Regions from separate parts of the Homo sapiens genome. Here regions 2 and 3 are each linked to region 1. The links are contacts of gene promoters, found by promoter capture Hi-C in human tissues and cell types (Jung and others, 2019). All regions are on one chromosome and are shown on one strand. Each heading gives the region's core, a stretch centred on a gene start or on the middle of the fragment in contact. The rest is flanking DNA. Distances are from core to core; before and after follow the strand shown. Region 1 holds the start of SCARF2 (scavenger receptor class F member 2). Region 2 overlaps KLHL22 (kelch like family member 22). Region 3 overlaps KLHL22 (kelch like family member 22).

What was found. The method cuts DNA at HindIII sites, captures the fragments that hold promoters and counts their contacts. A contact is called where the count stands out against the background at its distance.
Region 2: a contact is called between a fragment that was not itself captured here and the fragment with the promoter of SCARF2 in region 1, in 6 of the 25 tissues and cell types used here (IMR-90 fibroblasts, dorsolateral prefrontal cortex, liver and 3 more).
Region 3: a fragment that was not itself captured here is called in contact with the fragment with the promoter of SCARF2 in region 1 in 4 of the 25 tissues and cell types used here (IMR-90 fibroblasts, dorsolateral prefrontal cortex, lymphoblastoid cells and 1 more).

What each region holds. Positions count from the first base shown.
Region 1 is chr22:20,435,236-20,439,736 of GRCh38, reverse strand. It overlaps SCARF2 (scavenger receptor class F member 2), which reads left to right and starts at 1,912. Exons shown (of 11, transcript NM_182895.5): 1 at 1,912-2,155. The coding sequence starts at 1,983. It overlaps LOC107985588 (a long non-coding RNA gene), which reads right to left and starts at 1,741. Exons shown (of 2, transcript XR_001755623.2): 1 at 1,226-1,741. The HindIII fragment of the contact is 17,878 bases long and covers 1-4,501 here.
Region 2 is chr22:20,487,055-20,491,555 of GRCh38, reverse strand. It overlaps KLHL22 (kelch like family member 22), which reads left to right. Exons shown (of 7, transcript NM_032775.4): 2 at 2,312-2,571. The coding sequence starts at 2,345. Among named protein-coding and RNA genes, the nearest start is that of KLHL22, 6.5 kb to the left of the region's middle. The HindIII fragment of the contact is 7,515 bases long and covers 1-4,501 here.
Region 3 is chr22:20,468,389-20,472,889 of GRCh38, reverse strand. It overlaps KLHL22 (kelch like family member 22), which reads left to right. Exons shown (of 7, transcript NM_032775.4): 3 at 1,375-1,540. All of the region lies in intron 1 of LOC124905085 (a long non-coding RNA gene), which reads right to left. Among named protein-coding and RNA genes, the nearest start is that of KLHL22, 25 kb to the left of the region's middle. The HindIII fragment of the contact is 6,492 bases long and covers 1-4,501 here.

The DNA of each region.
Region 1 (4,501 bases), core at 663-3,162:
TGCAGTGGTGGTTGGGAGAAATGAGGGCTCTGCCCATGACACCCAAAGTTGCCATCTACTGCAAGGGATGTATGTACCGGGTCGTGAGGTGAGACTGGGGATGGTCCTCATCCTGAGAGCAGTGGTGGATAGCCACATGTGAGATTAAAAAGACTACTCTGGGTGGCAGACAGGGGTGGGCAGAGATCTAAGACATTTAGGAGGTCCTGGGGGATTGGGGGGCACCATCCAGGTGGTGCCCTCCCTGGACAGGTCTGGGGGAAGGAGAAAGGTGATGGAATTTGATATGCCTATTCATGACCTCCATCCAGCTGAGGTGAGTGTCCCCTCCAGCCCAGGGGGTCAGTGCCTCTAAAGCCAGGAGCTGGGCTGGGACAGACCTTGCAGCCACTGGGACCTCTGCTGGCCTCTATTGGGAGCCGCAATCCGGATCCTCCGTGGGAGGGGCCCCAGCACTGGGAGGGCATTGCTGAGGTCAGGGCTGTGCCCAGGCTGAGCTGCCCAGAAGTGGTTGGCCTGTTTATTTGTCCCCAGGTAGTTGCATTCGTGTCCACACTAGTTCCACTTCTCTTTCAGCCCACCCCACCTCCCTCCTGCACCAGCATGGCTGAGTGAGGGGCCTGCTCCTCCCCATCCCACTCTCTGCCTGTGCCAGCCTGGTGATGCCCATGGCCTTGGGCCTTTCAGTGGCTCCTCCTCCAAGCCCCCTCCTCCAGCCCCACCCTTCGGGGCTATCTGGCCACACCTGGACAGAGTCTGCCTGCCCTCCCTCAGTGAGCCTGTGGGCCGCATGTGGCCTGCTCCCCAAAGAACGGAGGTGCCCGCTCCCTGCTTAGGCCTTCTGCCAGCTCTCAAGTCCCCAAAAGACAAACATCCTCACTAGGACCTGGCTACACACGGGACATTTGTGCTCCCTGCCCAACTTCCAGAGTCGGTCTGCCCCAGTTGCCCCCCGGGGACCCGCACCCTGCTGCCTCCCAGTCCAAGTCCAGCTTCCCCGCTGGCTCCCTAGGGCCTGTCCCTCTGTCTTGCTCCCTTCCCACACCTTCCTTCTGCTCTGTGCTGTTACCCACCTTACCTGATGCAGGAGTTCCCACTCTCTAGCCCCAGCCTCTCCTGGAAATCCGACAGCCAGCAGAATCCACCGCCCAGGCTCCCCCAGCCCCCTTCACTCCTCAACTAGGACTGCAGGGTTTCCATCCCGGGGGTCTCCTTCTGTCTTTACCTCTACTTCCTACCGCAGTCCACAGCCTGGCCATTCTACTTCCTCTGTATCTCTCCCATCCGTCCCTACGGAGACCCCTTCCCCCAGGCCTCTGGTCCGGACCGAGTCTACCACAGGCCTCAAGCATCCTGCTCGGTCCGCCCCTTGCGAGCTCTGAGTGCGCAGGAGTGCGCAGGGGGAGCTGACCGCACACCCCAGCACTACAAGGACTTCGCGGTGGGGTGCTGTGGAGTTGGCTTTCGGCCTCGACCTGGGCTGTCTGCGGGCCCCACTCCCTTGGCCGGTTCCGAGGCGCTGGGAGCGGGGGTGGGCTTGCGGAGTCGCGTCCGTGTCCCCGATCCGCCTTCCCGTCCCGGGCCTGGCCTACGCAGTGGGCGCGCAGGGGCGGCTGCTTCGGTAGATGTCTAGGGAGCGGAGGGAAAGGCGCGGGAACCGGGGATTCCTCGGGCGGACCCTCCCTCCACCAGCGCTCGGCGGGCCTCCTCCAAGTTCGCCCCCAAGTTTGCGAGCGGCCAAATGGGGGCGGGGGCTGCGCGGAGGGGCGGTGGCTAGGCCGGAGGGTGGGGTCTGGAGCGCGGGGCGGGCGCTGCCGCCTGGCCGGCCGCGGCTGGCCCGGGATCAGGGAGCCGATGTGGAATTTCCTGCCCGGCTCGGCGCCCCTCCTGCCGCCCCCCGCCCGGCCTCGCACTCCGCTTCCGGCCGCTCTCGCTGCGGCCGCACCCGCGCCCGTGCCCGCCCCGCGCCTGCCCCGCGCCTCATGGAGGGCGCAGGGCCCCGGGGGGCCGGGCCGGCGCGGCGCCGGGGAGCCGGGGGGCCGCCGTCACCGCTGCTGCCGTCGCTGCTGCTGCTGCTGCTGCTCTGGATGCTGCCGGACACCGTGGCGCCTCAGGAACTGAACCCTCGCGGCCGCAACGTGTGCCGTGCTCCCGGGTAGGAGCCGGCCTGGCTGGGGGAGGGGGCGAGAGGGACGCTCTGGGCAGTGGTGTGGCGGCGCCGGGCATTGGGAGGGGGCTACCGGAACCTTCCTACGCCAAGTGTGGGCCCCTTCGGCTCCCTAGCCAGCGCGGCTCCGTTCCAGGCCCAGCCTCGGCCATGGGCCACGACAGTGCATCCCAGGGAACCCTGGACGAGAAGTCACCTGAGGGGAGGATGGAGTGCCGTGGGCACCCAGGGGATGACACGCGTTGTCCGGGATATCAGGAAAGACCTGGAAAAAGGGACCCTTGACCGAGTTGTGAAGTCCACGGGGAAAAGCTGGGGAAGGGCATTCAAGCCAAAGGAACTGCATGTGCTAAAGCCCCGCACTAGTCCGACTGGAGCCGGGAGTGGGAGTGAGGAGGAAGGTCAGGGGAGGAGGAGCGGTGCTAGCCGGGGAGGTCCTGGAGCAAGCCAGACTTGGAAAGACAGATTCGCGTCTTAGAGCGGGCGCGGGTGGGAGGGTGGTGACCCAGGCGAGCGTCGAGGAGCCGGCGCTCGAAGTGGACCAGAAGCGGGAGGCGGAAGGACTATGACAGGCACAGGGGACCGGAGGATGTGGGAACCCTGGCGACAACCAGGTGGGGATTCTGGGTGCAAGAAGGGGCCGCGCAAATGTGGGGCGCCGGCTGGGGAAGCCAGTGTGGGACAGGCAGGCGACAGGCCCGGCCGGTGGGGGGGCGAGTCCGGGAGTTTGCACGGAGGGCAGAGAGGTGAGCCCCGGACGCCAGGAGTTAGGAGCTGGGGTCGGGGGAGCCGGTGGGCTGGCCAAAGGCCACAAGGTCAAGGGCATCTCCACGCAGGGGTGAGGAGCGGGCGTGTGGGGGCGCCTTGGCGCGGATTGGAGACGCCGCACGGGCTGGCAGCCGCAGAGGCGGCCGCCGGGCTCCGAGCTGGGTCGCGTCGGGGCGCCTGAGCCACGGACCCGGGGCAAGCCGAGTCCAGGGGCTCGGCGCCAGAGACAAGGGGCTGCGAGGGGGCAGCGCGGGGTTTCCGAACTCTGGTCCGGAGGCGCGCAGACCCCTCCCCGCTGCGAGCCCCGCCTCCGGGGCGGGGGCCGGCCTGGCCCGCCATCTGCTTCGCATCGATGCCGCCGCCGCGGACTCCCGGGCCTCCCCGGCCCCAGGAATGCAGCGGCGGCGGCGGGCGGGGCGGTGCCTGGAGAGGGGGAGGGCGCGATCGCCGTGGTCTCTGTCTACTCACTCCAGCCCTCTTTCCCAGACAGGCCCGGGACCAGGAATGGGGGTCCGGTGCCAGGCTCTAGCTGTCCGGAGCCTGAGAGCCCTTTGCTCCCGCTCCCCTGGTCTGCAGACCTCCCAGGAGGCGCCTGCTCCAGGAACCGAGCCTGGGTTTGGGTTCCCATCCTGGTGCCACCCTACCCAGCTGTGTGGACCTGGGCAAGTCATTTGACCTCTCTGGGCCTGTCTCCACCTCTGTAAAATGGGATAGTGATCACAACCCCCTCATGGGGCTAAGTGGAGATCGCTGTGGTCATGAGTGGCAAGGGTCGATGGGAAGGACAGCCACTCTGGGCACTGCCCACCTGGGGTCTGGGTCATGTCTTTGTTGTCCTCCCACATCTTGCAAGGCTTCCATCAGCCCTTCCCTTTCCTGGGAGGCAGGAGGATGGGGAGAGGAGAGTGCAAAGCCAGTAAAATCCTATGCACCTACACTGTGCCAGGCCTGTATTGGTGTAGGGAAGCTGCAGTGGAGACCCTGACCCTGTGGCAGAGGAGACACAGTCCAGAAAAGCAAGTGTGTCTAGACATCTAGCAAGAGCTGGGAGGTGTTGGGTTGGGGAGTGCTGTTTCCTTTAGGGTGTTCTGAGGAGAACGGCTGAGAAGGTGGTGAGTGAGCACAGGCCTGCAGAAGAGCACGGAGGCCCTGTGGGTGTCTGGGGCAAGGTTCCCAAGGCAGAGGGCCTGTGGAAGTACAGGAAGGATCCAGGAGGCTGGGCAGAGTCCAGGAGGGGCTGGCGGAGGAGCTGCCAGAGAGTGAGGGTGGGCAGGCCACCGTGGGCTGCCACTGCTCAGAAGACTTGGGCTTTTCTTCTGAGGGCCATGGGACCCCCTGGGGGCTTTGTACAGAGAAAGGGTGGGATCTGACCAGGATTGGCTGCCAGGTGGCAAACACTTCGCACCCTGGGGGGCAGGGGGTGGAAGCTGGGGCCAGTTACAAAAAGCCAGGGAGATGGAGGGTGGCTCTCACAAGGCTGGGATAGGGAAGGAGGAAGTGATCCCATTTTAGATATCGTTTAGAAGCTAGAGCTCAGCGTCTTTTTTCTCAATGGATCTGGTGTAG
Region 2 (4,501 bases), core at 1,044-3,543, 51 kb before region 1:
ACTGTGATATTGTGAAATATATATTTGGTCTTGTCTCATTTCTTGGCATACAACTTCTAAAATCTTTGGACTTTCCAGAGTGATGCCTTTTTGTATGCTGGCCAGCAGCCCCTAGGTAGCTTCAGGATGGGGGCTGGTGACAGGAAAGGCCAAGGCAGGCATAAGAGGGTTGGGACTTTCAGCCTCACCTCTCAACCTCCGGAGAGGGGAGACAGGCTGAAGATTAAGTTCATCACCAATGGCCAGTGATTTAATCAGTCATGCCTACATAATGAAGCTTCCATAAAAATTCTGAATGACTGGGTTTGGAAAACTTCTGGATAGTTGAACACATGGAGGCTCCTAAAGAGTGATGTTCCTGGAGAGGGCCTGGAAGCTCTGCACCACTTCCCACATGTCTGGCCCCATGCATCTCTTCATCTGTATCCTTTGCAATACCCTTTATAACAAACCAGTAGACATGAGTATTTTCCTGAGTTCTGTGAGTCGCTCTAACAAATTAGTTGAACCCAAGAAGGGGATCTTGGGAACCCAATTTATAGCCTATTGGTCAGAAGCACAGGTGAAACAACCTGGGAGACTCAGCCCTCAACCTGTGGGATCAGACACTGTCTCCAGGTAGTGTTAGAGTTGAATTAGAGCAGGGGTCCGCAACCCCCAGGCCTCAGACCTGTATCAGTCTGTGGCTGGTTAGGAACCAGGTGGCACAACAGGAGGTGAGTGGAGGGTGATCCAGCATTACCACCTGAGCTCCACCTCCTGTCAGATCAGAGGTGGCATCAGATTCTCATAGGAGCACAAACCCTGTTGTGAACCATGCATGTGAGGGGTCCAGATTGTGTGCTCCGAAAGAGAATCTAGCTAATGCCTGATAATCTGAGGTGGAACAGTTTGATCCCGAAACCATTCCCCGACCCCGTGGAAAAATTGTCTTCCAAGAAAGTGGTCCCTAGTGCCAAAAAGATTGGGGACTGCTGAATTAGAAGACACCCAGCTGGTATCTGTGGCAGAATTGATTGCTTGCTTGTTAATGGGGAAAAACCCTCACACATTTGGTCACAGAAGTCTCCTGTGTTTGTTGTTGTGGTATAAGAGGAGAGGAAAAACAGTGTGTTTTTTTCATTCAGAACTACAGTAACATGCTGTACAAGTATGTAGCTTAGGAGCAATTGGCTGTACCTTATGGCCTAGATGTGTAGTAGTCTCTACCACCTAGGTTTGTGTAGGTGTACCCTTTGATGTTCACACACTGAGGAAATTGCCTCCAGCGATATAAGTCTCAGAATGTATCCCCAACATTAAGTGATGCATGACTGGAGGTAATTGGAGAATAAACATATTTTGGGGAGAGGAAAGTAGGATGAAGTGAGGTGGAGAAGACAGATGTTCACATCTTGTAGCTGACTGTGCTGTGCCTACAGAGCCTGCAGCTTGGCCATGCCTCACAGTGTGGGACTGGCCACTCCCTGACCTGAACAGCTGGCTATCCACAGTCACTTTTGGTTGCTCCATGGCAAAAGTGCATTTGCAGTAGGTTCATTTTACTGATTAGGTTTTAGAGGCTCCAATTCAAATCAGTTTGCGGTTTTTGAACGTACTGACTCAATTATTAGAAGATAATCTTTAATTTAAAAGGCAATGCAGATGAATTTAAATGCATCAGGTTCAATCACAGTTACTGTGCTTGACTCTCAGAATTTCAGTAAAGGAAAGTAGGCCCTGGAAATGCCACCCCCTTGGCACCCACCTCCCAGACTCCTGGCTGTGTGTCTCCTGACCACTACTCAGGTCTTGCCATTTTTATGCATCCATTACTATGAGGAAGAACCCAATTTTGTTCATTCAATGGGAGGGAGGAAGAGCTCTTGAGAACCTGGTGTGTGCTTATGCTTCATGTTCATTGTTTTACCAATTTTAGAATACCCCAATGGGGTAGGTACTTTTATCTCTCTTTTTAAAATTGGGGAGCTCGAGGCTCAGTTTGGTCATGTTGTAAGTCCCTGTGGAGTTGGGCTCCAACCCAGGTCAGTCTGTTTCCCAAAACCCTTCTGTTTGACTTTGCCGCTGAAGAAGATACAATGAGATGAAGAGTCTTGGGCATGATGGCACACAGGTCATCAGGAAGAAGGCCATCAGGAAGTTGGACTAGAGGTGGGAGGGGAGAAGGAATTAGGGGATTTGGAAATAGAGGGAAAACAGGTGAGCCTGAGGGAGGCACAGGAGCAAGGGGAGCAACAGAGCTGGCCAGTCTGTGTGTGGTGGGGCTGATGCCTGCCTGCTCACCCCTGTCCCCTGTTTTGCCAACTGTCAGGCCACAGTTGTAAGGGATCTTGTGGCTGTCAGGATGGCAGAGGAGCAGGAGTTCACCCAGCTCTGCAAGTTGCCTGCACAGCCCTCACACCCACACTGCGTGAACAACACCTACCGCAGCGCACAGCACTCCCAGGCTCTGCTCCGAGGGCTGCTGGCTCTCCGGGACAGCGGAATCCTCTTCGATGTTGTGCTGGTGGTGGAGGGCAGACACATCGAGGCCCATCGCATCCTGCTGGCTGCGTCCTGCGATTACTTCAGGTGAGTTCACTAGAGCTGTTTGTAAGAAGAATAACAAAGGTAATCCTGGCTCTGCTAGTAAAGGTACTGGCGGTGACAGTGGCTGGTCTCCTGCTCACCTCAGAGCCTCCCCTACTCCTTGTGGCTATGACTTAGTCAACAAGTGTGAGAGACAGAAGGGGGTCTTAGAGTTCATTTTTCATTCAGTGATCCTGTTTCTTGGGCTTTGCCTCCTCTTCTCTTCCCTCTCTTCTCTTCCTTTTCTTTTCCTTTTCTCTCTCTTTTCTTTTCTCTTTTCTTTCCTCCTTTCTCTCCTCCCCTCCCTTACCATTCCTCCCCTCCGTCAGTAATTATTGCTGTGTATGCATCACCTTCTGGCTCACACCTCTCATCCCTCAGGTGTTAGCCTCTGGCCCTCCCAGTGAGCTCTGTGGCCCCTCTGGGGTTTCTTATGGCCTCCTTCGTGACCCCATCCCAGCACTTGGCACAGTGTGAGGAACCACTGGCTTATCTGTCTTTTCCACTGGGTTGGAATCTGTCTCTTATCCCTAGCACCTGACATGGTTTTCACATATTCAAACAATACCCATGGCTTAAATGAATAAATTTATGTACACAGATAGCAGATCAATACACCATTTGCCCTGTTGTCTGCACTGCTCTGCACTCAAGGAGGTGGGTGTCACCACCCTTATTTCACATAGGTGGCATGAGCCTGAGAAGGACTGAGGGCCACTCGTGGTCCCCAGCAAGGTTGTCATGGGACTCCAAGCCTGAGGTGTTCCATTCTAGCTCTGATTCTGTTCAATCATTTTGTCTTCAAGGCTTAGTTGTAGTTCTCTCTCTCTCTCTTTCTCTTTATCTCTCTCTATTTTTTTAATTAGGAACTATCAAGCAAAATATGTATGGTTTAAGTGCCTTCTGTCTCCAAAAGGAGTTTTGGAGAATGTGACCCAGTGGTGGCTTGGTGCAGATGTGTCCAGGAGCAGCAGAATTCTTTCAGTTCACCAGGGAAATTCAGCTGAGGCCTTTAATAAGCATTAAGATAACATACAGGACAGTGGGTAGGGTAGAGGAGCTGAGGGCCCCCTGCAGGGGACTTAGGACCTGTATAGGAGAGGATGGCCAGAGGCTGTGGAGCCTATGGGATCCCCTGGGCTCACCCTCTCAGCCCTTCTTGATTTAGTGTCATACCACTCTTTCTGAAGATGACAGTGTAGGCAGCCTTTCGCTAATCTGTCAAAAACCTTATGTGGCTTTCCACGTCCTCCAGGAGCAATTTCTAGCCCTTTCCACAGCCCCCCTTGGGTAAACCTCTTATGAGAGGTGTCCTGCTCTCCGGGATGATTACAATGCATCACTAACACCCCCTGCATCCCTCCACTTCCATTGGGAAGGGGAGCGGGAGAGTGGCAACATTATTGGAAGAGCCCAGAGTCATTTCACAGGGGGGTGTGTGTGTGTATGTATAAATAAGAAATAGAGGCCAGTCACGGTGGCTCACACCTGTAATCCCAGCACTTTGGGAGGCCAAGGCAGGTGGATCACTTGAGGCCAGGAGTTTGAGACTAGCCTGGCCAACATGGTGAAACCCTGTCTCTACTAAAAAAAAAAAAAAAAATTAGCTGGGTGTAGTGGTGGGCGCCTGTAATCCCAGCTACTTGGGAGGCTGAGGCAGGAGAGTTGCTTGAACACAGGATGCGGAGGTTGCAGTGAGCCGAGATTGTGCCACTGCATTCCAGCCTGGGTGACAGAGCAAGACCCTGTTTCAAAAAAACAAAAAAGAGGCTGGATGTAGTGGCTCACGCCTGTAATCCTAGAACTTTGGGAGGCCGAGGCGGGTGGATCACCTGAGATTAGTAGTTCGAGACCAGCCTGGCCAACATAGTGAAACTCCGTCTCTGCTAAAAATACAAAAACTAGCGGGGCGTGGTGGCACATGCCTGTAATC
Region 3 (4,501 bases), core at 1,035-3,534, 33 kb before region 1:
CCTACACCCTCTCAGCCTTATCCTTAGGTCTCAGTTCCTCAGATGGGGCTTTCCCTGCTCCTTCTCATCATTCCACCTACCCCTCTTCTAACCAGTGACTCTCAGGTCAGATGCCCTGCTGGGTTCCTTCTTAGCATTTATTTATATATGTATATATGTTTTTTGAGACAGAGTCTTGCTGTGTCACCCAGGCTGGATCGCAGTGGTGTGATCTCGGCTCACTGCAACCTCCGCCTCCCGGGTTCAAGCGATTCTCCTGCCTCAGCCTCCTGAGTAGCTGGGATGATAGGCGCCCGCCACCACACCCAGCTAATTTTTGTATTTTTAGTAGAGACGGGGTTTCACCATGTTGGCCAGGCTGGTCTTGAACTCCTGACCTCAGGTGATCTGCCCGCCTTGCCCTCCCAAAGTGCTGAGATTATAGGCGTGAGCCACCACGCCCGGCCAATTTTTGTAATTTTTGTAGAGACAGGATTTCACCGTGTTGCCTAGGCTGGTCTTGAACTCCTAGGCTCAAGGGATCTGCCTGCCTTGGCCTCCCAGAGGGTTGGGATTAGAGGCGTGAGCCACCGCGCCCAGCTATTTTACCAGTTTACTTCACTATAACTCCTTTTGCTCTTTGTTTTTTGTTTTGTTTTGCTTTTTGAGACAGTCTTGCTTTGTTGCCCAGGCTGGAGTGCAGTGGTGCAATCTTGGCTCATGGCACCCTCCGTCTCCCAGGTTCAATCAATTCTTGTGCCGCAGCCACCAAAGTAGCTGGGACTACAGATGCACAACATCATGCCCGGCTAATATTTGTATTTTTAGTAGAGACGCGGTTTCACCATGTGGGCCAGGCTGGTCTCGAATTCCTGACCTGAAGTGATTTGCCTGCCTTGGCCTCCCAAAGTGCTGGGATTACAGGTGTGAGTCACCGTGCCTGGCCTCCTTCTGCTCTTTGAATGATACTTGGCATTTGGTAGGAACTCCATAAATATACATTGAATGAAATGACTTTTATTAGTTTCCCATTAATTAATTCATTGCTTTGAAATGTGCTCTGGAGTTGCTACTGCTCCGATCCAGGAACTGCACTGATGAACACAGCAGAAGCAAGCTGCTTGTGGCCTCACCTCCCGAAGCTCACATGGGACTCCTTGGGCCCATGAAAAGGGAAACAGGACAATTTCCAGGATGGCTGCCCAGACTTCGTCAGGATCCTTTTGTGGGATGGCTCATGCATGCACACAGTTCACTCAGAGCACAGAGTGGGTCAGCCCACTACCAGGGCCCTGCCACCAGCGCCAGGTTCTTCTCTGAATGCTGTCACTCTTGGCAACATGGGCTTAAGTCCCTGTTGGTATAACTCCATTTTCTTGTGTCTTCACTTTGCAGAGGAATGTTTGCTGGGGGATTGAAGGAGATGGAACAGGAAGAGGTCCTGATCCACGGTGTGTCCTACAATGCTATGTGCCAAATCCTACATTTCATATACACCTCCGAGCTGGAGCTCAGCCTGAGCAATGTACAAGAGACACTGGTGGCTGCCTGCCAGCTTCAGGTGAGGCATGTCTCATCTAGCAAGGCAGACCCACACCCAGGTGGGGTTCCCTGAGATGCCCATGATGCCTGCCGGGCACTAGCATTGGCTTGAAGATGGGTCAGGAATGTGAGGAGACCAAGCAGTGACGAAGGCCATGAAGTGGGGAAGACTCTGGAGTTGTTCCTGGAGCTCAAGCAGAGCCGCTCTAGACACCCCAGGCCTCTGCCTTTGCCCTCTTCTCTATTGCTGGTTGTTTCCCCACTGTCTGAGTCTCCCTGTCATTGAAAGCATCCTGCACATAAGCAGGTAGGCTGACCCGAGGCTGCATGTGGACGTCCTGTGTGCTCTGGGGTCTGGCAATGGGGAGCATCCACCAGCATTGCTGCCAGGGCCCTTCCTGCCTGTCCCCTCACTGGGCCACTTCAGTCTCTTGAAAACTTATGTGTTTTGTTACTGAACTTTATCTATCTATTTGTCTGTCCATCCATCCATCCATCCATGCATGCACGCATCCATCCATCCATCCATGCATGCATGCATCCATCCATCCATCCATCCATCCATCCATCCATCCATCCATCTATCCATCCATCCATGCATGCATCCATCCATGGTGGCAGGCATCCATCCATCCATCCATCCATCCATGCATGCATCCATCCATCCATCCATCCATCCATCCATCCACCCATCCATCCATCCACTCATTCAATTTATTGGAGACAAGCTCTCTCTCTCTTGCCCAGGCTGGAGTGCAGTGGCACGATCACAGCTCACTGCAGCCTCAACCTCCTGGGCTCCAGCAATCCTTCTGCCTCAGCCTCCCAAATAGCTAGGACCTATAGGCATGTGCCACTACACCTGGCTAATTTTTAAATTATTTTTATAGAGATAGAGGCTTGCTTTGTTGCTTAGGCTAGTCTTGAACCCCTGGCCTCAAGTGATCCACCTCAGCCTTCCAAAGTGTTGCGATTACAGGTGTGAGCCACTGCGCCTGGCCTATTTTTTTTTTTTTTTTAAAGACAGGGTCTCACTCTGTTACCCAGGCTGTAATGCAATGGCATGATCATAGTTCACTGTAGCCTCCACCTCCTAGGCTCAAGTGGTCCTCCCGCCTCAGCCTTCTGAGTAGCTGGGACTAAAGATGCGTGCCATTGTGCCTAGCTGATATTATATATATATATATTTTTTTATAGGAATGGGGCCTTGTTATGTTGCCCAGGCTGGTCTCAAGCTCCTGGCCTCAGGTGATACTCCCACCTTGGCTTCCCAAAGTTCTGGGATTACAGGTGTGAGCCTCTGTACCCAACCTGTTATTGAACTTTAAGTACTTGTTTTCCTGCAGAATTCAAAAAGTTTTCTGAGGCTTTGACAGTGTGACTTATGTTTTGGATGATTATTCTCAGTGGTGTGGGTGCAGTTACACGGGACTGGGCCTGCAGGTGCCTTTGAGCTATCAGGCAGAGGCCTGATAGGAGTTGACAGTCACCTCTTCCCACATTTCTTAAAAGTGAAACAAAATGCTATGCTAAGTTCATCATTCTGACCTTTCTTCCCATGAGAGCAGGTTTGACGCAATTAAAAAAAAACAACTCAAGTCACAGGAAAACCAACCTGTTCGGGGGCATGTGGAGGTGCCACCCCATGTGACAGGGCCCTGGCAGCCTCCCTGTGCCCTGTTCTCAGATTGGTGGATAGGACCTGGATGCTGGGTGGGTTGATCTGAGATGACTGACTTGTCTCACCATACCTGCATGGTGAGTAGATGGAGTTGGCTTTTACAACAAAAGAATTTCCCCCTGTTCTTTTATTTAGAGATCTCTTCTGTCCCCACATCCCTGTCATTGTTGCTTTGGGAACCCTCATCCAATTCTCCACCCTGGCAGCAGTTAACTCCTGATTCAGCTGCCTCTGAAACATCTCCCCCAGCATGGCTCAGGTCCAGCTGTCCTATCTCCTCCTCCACACCTGCCACTCTCCCGGAGCTCCCCTGTCAGTCCCCCTGCTCTGTGTGTCCTGTGACCATCCTGCCAGTTCCCTGGGCTCAACCTCAGTGGCTCCTTGAGCCCGTCCACCTTCTTAATTCCCTGCGTCCATGTGAGGACAGGTCATCCTTCTCGGTATTGCTTGTAGCCATCTCTGTTCTGTGTTTCCATTTCCTTCCCTTTTGCCTGGCCTCCATCTGTATGTTTCTGCCATTTCTTTCTTCTCCCTGCAGTGATCACACACACTGAAACCAGATCATCTTTCTAACATCACTTTCCCTCTCTCACCAGTCAGCTTGGAGGCCTGCAGTCTCTCTCTGTTGGTTTGGCCAGTGCTCCCGACAGCCCTGGGTCATCTCCCCCAGTGCCTCAGAGGTCATCTCAGAGGCAGCAGCCTATCTTAGTTTTTTAACATATCAGGCTTCTGGGCCAGGCTTGGAGGTTCATGCCTGTAATCCCAGCACTTTTGGAGGCCAAGGTGAGAGGATTGCTTGAGGCCAGGAGTTTGAGATCAGCCTGGGCAACAAAGCGAGACCTCTACAGAAGCACTTTAAAAATAGCCGGGCATGGTGGCATGCACCTGTAGTTCCAGCTACTCGGGAGGCTGAGGTGGGAGAATCACTTGAGCCCAGGAGGTGGAGGCTTCAGTAAGCTGTGATCACCACACCACTACATGCCAGCTTATCTCAAAACAAAAAACAAACAAACAAAAAAAAACAGGCTTCTTCACAATATTGTTTTATAGCAGGTTTTACTTGGCATAACCATGTCAAGTCCATAGGCCTGTAGAATCATGTATGTTCACATAGCTAGTGACTTTTGGAGGCTTCCCCCATGTGTTGTGCCCTGCAGTAGGCCTGGGACCAGATTCTTCACGGTGTCCCCAGAGGCCTGAGTCTGATTCCCAGTAACACTGTCCTATTGGGTTACCCCAAGCAAATGCAGTCCCTTCTGTGAGCCTCGTATGGGGCTTTTGCACATCCTGAGCCCAGGC